Regions from separate parts of the Homo sapiens genome. Here region 1 is linked to region 2. Evidence: promoter capture Hi-C in 16 types of primary human blood cells and fetal thymus (Javierre and others, 2016). All regions are on one chromosome and are shown on one strand. The core of a region is centred on a gene start or on the middle of the fragment in contact, and the rest is flanking DNA. Distances in the headings are between cores, read along the strand shown. Region 1 overlaps LOC105372631 (a long non-coding RNA gene). Region 2 holds the start of SYS1 (SYS1 golgi trafficking protein).

Region 1 (4,470 bases), core at 1,493-3,992, 70 kb after region 2:
AAATCGAATTTTCAATTTCCTAGTAGCTTTTTTAAAAAGTAAAAAGAGGGGCCAGGCACAGTGGCTCAGCCTGTAATCCCAGCACTTTGGGAGGCTGAGGTGGGCAGGATCACCTGAGCTCGGGAAGTTGAGGCTAATAGTGGGCTGAGATTGTGCCACTGCACTCCAGCCTGGGTGACAGGGAAGGAGACCCTGTCTCAAAAAAAAAAAAAAAAGAAAGGAAAAACAGGTAAAATTAATTTGATGATAGTTTATTTGAGTACAGTATATATATCATTTCAATATATAATTAATATGAAATAAAAACTAATGCAATATTTTACTTTTCTTTATATTAAGTCTTTGAAATCTGATGTGTACTTTAAACATTTATAGCATATAACAACTAATATTAGCCATAACTCATGTGCTCAATAGTTGCATGTGGTCAGTGGCTACCATATTGGACATTGATGCTCTACCATATAAAGCAACTATCAGTAACTTCAGGATAACCTCATCAACATTTTGTTAGATTGATTAACAAAAATAATTCTACAAAAATGAAGAGTTTATGGATATTGTTTTCCCTGAATTTTTGCATATTTTCTTAATACCTGAAGGACAATTTTATGGGGTAATATTTTAAAAAATAATTTGACTTTTTTTTTCCTCTTTCTAGGCTATTGAGATTTATTTATTTATTTATTTATTTAAGATGGAGTCTCTGTCGCCCAGGCTGGAGTGCAGTGGTGCAATCTTGGCTCACTGCAACCTCTGCCTCCTGGGTTCAAGTGATTCTCTCACCTCAGCCTCCCGAGTAGCTGGGATGACAGGCACGCACCACCATGCCTGGCTAATTTTTGTATTTTTAGTAGAGGCGGGGTTTCACCACGTTAACCAGGCTGGTCTCAAACTCCTGACCTCAAGTGATTTACCCACCTCAGCCAACCAAAGTGCTGACATTATAGGTGTGAGCCACCGCACCTGGCCCAGGCTATTGGTACTTACTATCCCCAACTTTTATTCTATGCTAGTAATTTGATTTGTAGCTCTGACTTGTTTCTTCCTTGAGATTTTCAATTTATTTGCAGTTTTTTTAGTGGTGTTACCTAGATCTTCAATTTATTTCTTTAACACTCATTTTTAAGGGTCTTTTAAATTTTTATTTATTTTAAAATATTTATTTATTTATTTATTTATTTTTAGAAATGAAATCTTGTTATGTTGTCCAGGGTGGTCTTCAACACCTAGCCTCAAGCAATCCTCCCACCTTGGCCTCCCAAAGCACTGGGATTACAGGTGTGAACACTGAACCACTGAACCCAGCCTAATGTCTTATTTTATTAAAGTTTTTGTTTTTTAAGCTGAAAGCCCTCCTATAAATTTTTCCTTTTATCAGATTTTCTGCTGAATTCAGTTATCTGTGTCTGTTTCTTTTCTCCAGCGTCCTTTCCTTTTTAATTTTCTTCTTTTTTTCCTTTCTTCCCTCCCTCCCTGCTTTATTTTCTTTCTTCCTTATAACTGTATGTAGTATGGTGCATAGCTACTCTGTCATTTCCCTTCATCTTCGTCAGGCTCAGTTTGGGCAACTCTGCCCTGTCCTTTCGCTTATTCTAATTGGTGTCAGTATATTCTCTTTGGTTTCCTTCTCACCATATCTGAGATCTATTGTTATTTCCATCCCTACCCCCCAAATTGCAGTCTGAAGTTTGCCTCTATACACTTCTGTGGAGCCTAAAGTCATGGGGTTGAGGGAAGAAAGGAATGCTATTGGAGATGTCTCTTGACTATGATGGGCAGCCTGGGCTCTGCTCTCTGGAGATTTTCTTAAATTCCTGGAACCACAGTTGGCTTCCTCTAGTGACGTGTTATTCCATTTTTGAGAAAGTTTCCCTGGAGCTTTGGATCAGCCAACCAATTAGAAATTTGAGCCTTGGGGAATGGCAAACCTTGGTGGGCTTTTTATCTCTGTGGAGACCCCAAGAGCTTGGGTGGGACTTGAATTTTCTGGGGATGCATCTTGACTTTTTGCATGCAGTTCTCTAACACTCCTCCCCAAAACTCATATTAAAATTTAATCCCTAATGTGGCAGTACTGAGAGGTGGGGTCTTTAAGAGGTGATTGGGTCATGAATGGATTAATCCATTCACAGATAAATGGATTAATGGATTATCATAGGAGTGGGACTGGTGACTTTATAAGAGGAAAACACATAGTTTAGCATGCTCAGCCCCCTCACCATGTGATGTCCTGAACTGCCTCAGGACTCTGCAGAGGGTCCCCACAACAAGAAGGCTTTCACCAGGTGCATCCCCTTGACCTTGGGCTTCCCAGCCTACAGAACTGTAAGAAATAAATTTGGTTTTTAATAAATTACCCAGTTTCAGGTATTCTGTTAAGACACAGGACAAGAAGGCTACTCAGTTGCAAGCAAGAGCCATTTCTTATGGAAAAGGAAGTGTGAGTCAGAGTGGAGCCAAGAACCTCTGGCAACAGGTGCACAATTCAATTTCAGAATTGCCGGGGCTCAGTGATTGCTCTGAACTTCCCCTTTTAAAACGGTAGTGAACATAGTGGTTTCCTGTGCCAATCTCGCCATTGCAGGTTGGGTGCATGTGAGGCAGAAAACATGTCTCTTTAGTTCACAGGTTTTCAGATGGAGAGAAACTCTACCCACGGAACAGAACCCAAGACGCCTCTTTGCAGCTGGACTTGATGTAGATAAGCTCCAGAAATTGGAGCTGAGTTTGATGTCAAAATAGGATGAGGTGTTTGTTTGTTTGTTTGTTTGTTTGTTTGGTTTTAAGACAAACTCACTCTGTCACCCAGGCTGGAGTGTAGTGGTGTGATCACGGCTCACTGCAGTTTTGACTTTCCAGGCTCAAGCAATCCTCCCACCTCAGCCTTTTGAGTAGCTGGGACTACTACAGGTTTGTGGCACCGTGATTGGCTAATTTTTTATTTTTTATAGAGATAGGGTCTTGCTATGTTGCCCAGGCTGGTCTCGAACTCCTGGATACAAGTGTTCCTCCCACCTCAGTCTCCCAAAGTGCTGGGATTACAGTCATGAACCACTGCATCTGGCCAAGATTTTTTTTTTTTTTTTTTTTTTTTTTTTTTTTAGTGGGAAGTAGGGCAGTGGGGGTAGGTGGGGACGGGTCTTGGAGGAAGTTATATTTTACATATAGGAAAATTTTAACTAATCTGTCTCAGTTTAAAAACATGTCTGCAATTTTTCTGGCACTTGTCCCATTGAGAATTGGGGTCAATCCCCTTTTTGAATCTGGGCTGACCTTGCCGACTCCATCATGATCAGTAGAATGCAGTGGAAGAGATACTGTGTGATTTCTGAGGCTAGGTCAAAAAAGGCTGTCCTTCCATCTTGCACTCTTGGGATGCTGGCTCTGGGTGATGCTGATGTCCATGTGAAAAGTCTGACTACCCAGAGGCCACTGCTGAAAAGAACACATGCAGTGGACACCGGCCAACAGTTCCAGCTGAGTTTAGCCTTTTAGTTTAGCCTTTCTGCCAAGGCCCTAGACATGTGATTGAAGCCATCCTGGGTCCTCCAGCCCAGCCCAGCCCAGCTGGGTACCACAGAATGACCTCAGACATGGCCACAAGGAGCAAAAGAATTCCCCAACTAAGCCCCGCCTGAATTCCAGACCTACAGAATCCACGTGCATCAGAAAAGAGTTGTTGTTTTGTGCCACTAAGTATGGATCCTGGTAGGCAACTCACTGGAACAACTGGTGAGAATTTTCAGGACTTTTGTATTATTTCCTCTTTCTCCTGCACCTCTTCTGGAACAGAGCAGTTGGGGATAGGACCATGACGAAACACATCAAGATATTCTATATTTTTCTGTTGCTACTGCTTTTTGAAGTTTATGGAATGAGGTTCTACTGTTTCCCATGGTGGTTTACTGCTGCTGATTTTTTTTTTTTTACCTGTTTTTTTTTTTTCTCCTATCCAATTCAATAGAAACCAGAGAATGAACATTCTATTGTGAAACTATCCTGCCATCTGCACTTTACTCAGTGATATGGTTTGGATTTGTGTTGCCACCCAAATCTCATGTCAAATTGTAATCCCCAATATTGGAGGTGGGGCCTGGTGGGAGCTGGTTGGATCATGGGGGTGGATTTCCCCCTTTCTGTTCTCCTGATAGTGAGATCTCATGATACTTGGTTGTTTAAAAGTGTGTGGCACCTCCCCCCTCTCTCTTTCGCCCACTCCTGCCATGTAAGACATGTCTGCTTCCCCTTTGCCTTCCACCATGATTGAAAGTTTCTTGAGGCCTCCCCAGCTATGCTACCTGTACAGCTGGCAGAACCGTGAGCCAATTAAACCTCTTCTTTATAAATTACCCAGTCTCGGGTAGTTGTTTTTTTTTTGAGACGGAGTTTTGCTGTTGTTGCCCAGGCTGGAGTGCAATGGCGCGATCTCAGCTCACCGCAACCTCCGCCTCCCGGGTTCAAGCGATT
Region 2 (4,374 bases), core at 1,177-3,676:
ATGCCACTGCACCCCAGCCTGAGCGACAGAGCAAGACTCCGTTTCAAAAAAAGCCAGGTGTGGTGGCACATGCCTGTGGTCTCAGCTATTCGGGAGGCCGAGGCTTGGGCCTGGGAGTTTGAGGGTGCAGTGAGCCATGATTGCGCCACTGCAAACCAGCATGGGTGACAGATTGAGACCCTGTTTCAAAGAACCAAACTAAACCAAACCAAAACTAAACTAAAAGTCATCTTGATGTTTGGAGTCAGTTGTCCTGAATTTGAATCTCAGCTCTGCTCCCTGTGAGCTCTCTGACCTAGAGAGTCACACCACCTCCCCCCAAGCCTAGTTTCCTCCCCTATAAAAAGGGGACAATAGCTATATTTTCAGATTGTGAGAATTAAACAAGATCATGTAGGCACTTAAGAAACAGATGTTTTCTCAGAAACACTAGATCATGTGCATAATCAGTGAACTAGAGGAATTTGAATACATATTTGTTGGACTGAATTGAGGTGCCTAAAAGAATGGTTGAGCTGGAAAGCACCTAAGAAATCTTTGGGCCTTAATAACTCCCCAACTGGAGTCCAGGGGAACTGTTCAGGGTATTTCCAAATGATAAGGACAATCGCACACTCTCAATAAAGTCTCAAGTTTCTTTACTTTTGTCTGGAATTGTATCAGCTCAAGGTGATAACACGGCTACCACAAGCTGTTCAGAAATTCTGATTGGCAGTTACATGGCTCTTTGATACGTTTTTTTTTTTTTTTTTTTGAGACGGAGTCTCGCTCTGTCGCCCAGGCTGGACTGCAGTGGCGCAATCTCGGCTCACTGCAAGCTTCGCCTCCCAGGTTCACGCCATTCTCCTGTCTCAGCCTCCCGAGTAGCTGGGACTACATGCGCCTGCCACCAGGCCCGGCTAATTTTCTGTATTTTTAATAGAGATGGGGTTTCACCATGTTAGCCAGGATGGTCTTGAACTCCTGACCTTGTGATCTGCCCGCCTCAGCCTCCCAAAGTGCTGGGATTACAGGCATGAGCCACTGTGCCCAGCCTAAGTTTTTTTTTTAATGAGAAAATAATTACTGGAAGGTAGATTAAATGGTGGAAAACGTTAATCATGTCCAACTCCTCATTTCATAAACAGGGAAGCTGAGGTTTAAAGAAGGAAGTGGCTTGCTGGTCACACTGGGTGGCATAGCTGGCCCTAAAACCCAAATTCTTTTCCTGGAACAACTTACTTCCCGTCTTTCCACTTCAGAGAGGGGGAACCTAGGATCAATGAAGTTGATGGGTTTTCGTCTGCTGGAGTAGGAATAAGTGAGTTATCGATTTGCTCTTGCTTTTTCTGTTCTTAACTCATTCAGCAAATATTTACTGACTGTCCACTATTCGGATTTGGAAGATAGATAAAACAGTCATGGCAGCAGAGAGGGTCAGGATTTACTCCTATGTGCGACTTCAGAACCTGTGCCTTTTTCCACTGGACACCCACATTTTAAAACACCCACTACTCTGCCTTCTAATATAGTTCATCTGTGTCTCAGGGCAGGGGCTGTCTTATATATACATGTTCTAGCCTTCCTGCCACCGAGTAGGTGCGAAATCAATGTTGTAGTGTTGAGGAAACACTTGAATTTTATTTATTTATTTATTTATTTATTTATTTATTTAGAGACGGAGTTTTGCTCTTGTTGCCCAGGCTGGAGTGCAATGGCGTGATCTCGGCTCACTGCAACCTCTGCCTCCCGGGTTCAAGCAATTCTCCTGGCTCAGCCTCCCGAGTAGCTAGGACTACAGGCGTGCGCCACCACGCCCCGCTAATTTTGTATTTTTAGCAGAGACGGGGTTTCTCCATGTTGGTCAGGCTGGTCTCGAAACACCGACCTCAGGTAATCCGCCCACCTCAGCCTCCCAAAGTGCTGGGATTACAGGCGTGAGCCACCGCGCCCGACCAACACTTGAATTTTAATACTTACTTTGCTACTAACTGTGTCGTTGAAACAGTATGTTGCTTTCCTTCTCTGGCCCTTAGCTTAACTATCTGTACAGCGGGAACATTGGCAAACTCCTACGTGGAGGAGCTTGCAGGTCCACTTCAAGTTATCAGACTCTAACTAGGAGAAAACATTGAGAATTTAGGCTGAAAATAACGACACAGTTTATCACCTCGTTAATTCCCAAACATCATTACCGCGTCCTAAGCCACCCCACTTGCCTCTCCCCTAGCCGCCTTCCTTTAAAAAAAGAATTCCCCTCTAGAGGGCGCGCAAGCTCTGCGGCCTTCGTTCCTCTCTTCCGTTTGCCTTCACTCTTCCTTCTGCGCATGTGCTCAGTTCGCTATCCGGCTGCTTGTACCTGGTTCAGGAGGTTCAGGCAGAGGTTGCACCCACTACGCCTGCGCAACCTCAGCCCCGCCCCTCCGCTGCTTTCCCCGGAAACGTTTCTTTCCTACGCAGCCGCTCCTGCCGCCGTGGTCGCTGGAGCTTTGCCTCTCTAGGCCGGCAGCGCCTCTCCTCCATGGTCCTGTCTGTCAGCGCTGTTTTGGGAGCCCGCCGGTGAGGCCGGGCCACGCTCAGACACTTCGATCGTCGAGTCTGTCACTGGTGAGTAGACCCCAGAGGAGCTCGTGTACGGGCGGGGGCCGCGCAGGCGGAATGGGCTGGATTTCCCCTCACTCTGAGAATGGGTCTGTCTGCCCCGCCTTCCCCCTGACTCTTGGAATGGGCTCACCCCTTGGTTCCAGTCCCTCCTCCCGGGCGGGGCGACGTTGCCATGGAGACAGGCCGCTGGCTGAGGCCCGGCTCGTGTCCCTGCAGGGCATGGCGGGTCAGTTCCGCAGCTACGTGTGGGACCCGCTGCTGATCCTGTCGCAGATCGTCCTCATGCAGACCGTGTATTACGGCTCGCTGGGCCTGTGGCTGGCGCTGGTGGACGGGCTAGTGCGAAGCAGCCCCTCGCTGGACCAGATGTTCGACGCCGAGGTAGGGTCCCCGGACTGGGGCGGGTGGGGTCTCGGCCTCCCCGAGTAGGCTTTGTGGTCCATCACTACTGTGCTGTAGACGTGGCTGGGTCACCTTCTTTCTTTGTAGCCCTGGGAAAGGGATTTCACCTTTCTGAGCCTCAGCTGCCTCATCCATAAAATGGAATGACAGCAGAGGCTGATTAGTACAAAGAAAAGGGCCTGGATGTTAATACAATAAACACGTCTGTGTTCCAGGCAACTCTGATACATTTCCTTTCTGATACTCTGGGAAAGTGACTTGATTTCTCTGAGCTAGGTTCTCAGGTGCCACATCGGAGAGAGGGGTGGATAAAAGAGCATTCGTGCGGGTACAGTGGAAACTGCCTGGACTTTGGGGTCAGACAGGCGTCCGTTTAAGATCCACTTACTAGCTGTGTGACCTGGGGCAAATGTCACCTCTGTGAACTTGTTTTCCTGTCTTCAAAACCATGAGACTAGTTGCAGAGAGGTCGTGGACTGCAATATAAAGAGCATGTGCTTTGGGTTCAGAAAAGCAAGGGTTCAGTCTAGGCCTAAACATATAAAACTAGCTGTGGGACCTTGGGCAAGTTGCTTCCCCTTTCTGAGCCTTTTCTGAAAAGTGGGCCGGATGCTCCTACCATGTTGCCCTCAACAAAATGTTACAAGGCCCAGAGGGGTTTAGGAATAAGAAGGTACTTTGTAAAGTGTAAAGGAGGCCTATAAGTTGTTACATCTAAGAGGCAGCTGTGGCGTGGTGATGAGCACAGTTCTTTTTTTTTTTTTTTTTTTTTTTTGAGACGGAGTCTCCCTCTGTCGCCCAGGCTGGAGTGCAGTGGCAGGATCTCGGCTCACTGCAAGCTCCGCCTCCCGGGTTCACGCCATTCTCCTGCCTCAGCCTCCCAAGTAGCTGGGACTACAGGCGCCCGCCACTACGCCCGGCTAATTTTTTGTATTTTTAGTAGAGACGGGGTTTCACCGTTTTAGCCGGGATGGTCTCGATCTCCTGACCTCGTGATCCGCCTGCCTCGGCCTCCCAAAGTGCTGGGATTACAGGCGTGAGCCACCGCGCCCGGCCGAGCACAGTTCTTAAAGCCAGGAGACCTGGGATGGAGTCCTTGCTCCTGCTGCTTGTTCTCTGTGTTAGCCCTTGGGCAAGTTATTATCCAAAAAGTGATAAGAATTAAAAGAAGAAGAATGGCTTTGTGAGGTTTTTTTAGGGATAATATGAGATTATGTATGTCAAAGACCTTTCTTTGTCAGCTGAAAGTGTGGTGCAGATGTTTGGCATTTGATAGTATTGTGTTGGATAGTGGAGGTTGCACACCCACCATATGCCTAGTTGTAGTCTCGTAGGAGACTCTATGCTCCTGGGAAGAGCTGTGGGAATGCCAGGCTTTGTTGAAGAGCC

The links. The method cuts DNA at HindIII sites, captures the fragments that hold promoters and counts their contacts. A CHiCAGO score of 5 or more calls a contact.
Region 1: a fragment that was not itself captured here is called in contact with the fragment with the promoter of SYS1 in region 2 in 10 of 17 cell types (total CD8 T cells, activated CD4 T cells, naive CD4 T cells and 7 more); the score reaches 8.2 in total CD8 T cells.

Annotation. Positions count from the first base shown.
Region 1 is chr20:45,429,984-45,434,453 of GRCh38, forward strand. All of the region lies in intron 2 of LOC105372631 (a long non-coding RNA gene), which reads left to right. Among named protein-coding and RNA genes, the nearest start is that of MIR6812, 6.7 kb to the left of the region's middle. The HindIII fragment of the contact is 8,302 bases long and covers 1-4,470 here.
Region 2 is chr20:45,360,730-45,365,103 of GRCh38, forward strand. It overlaps SYS1 (SYS1 golgi trafficking protein), which reads left to right and starts at 2,427. Exons shown (of 4, transcript NM_033542.4): 1 at 2,427-2,586; 2 at 2,800-2,964. The coding sequence starts at 2,803. It overlaps SYS1-DBNDD2 (SYS1-DBNDD2 readthrough (NMD candidate)), which reads left to right and starts at 2,440. Exons shown (of 6, transcript NR_003189.2): 1 at 2,440-2,586; 2 at 2,800-2,964. LOC124904914 (a long non-coding RNA gene) reads right to left here and starts at 2,639. Exons shown (of 2, transcript XR_007067609.1): 1 at 2,339-2,639; 2 at 1,627-2,097. RefSeq lists an enhancer at 2,157-2,596. The HindIII fragment of the contact is 10,354 bases long and covers 817-4,374 here.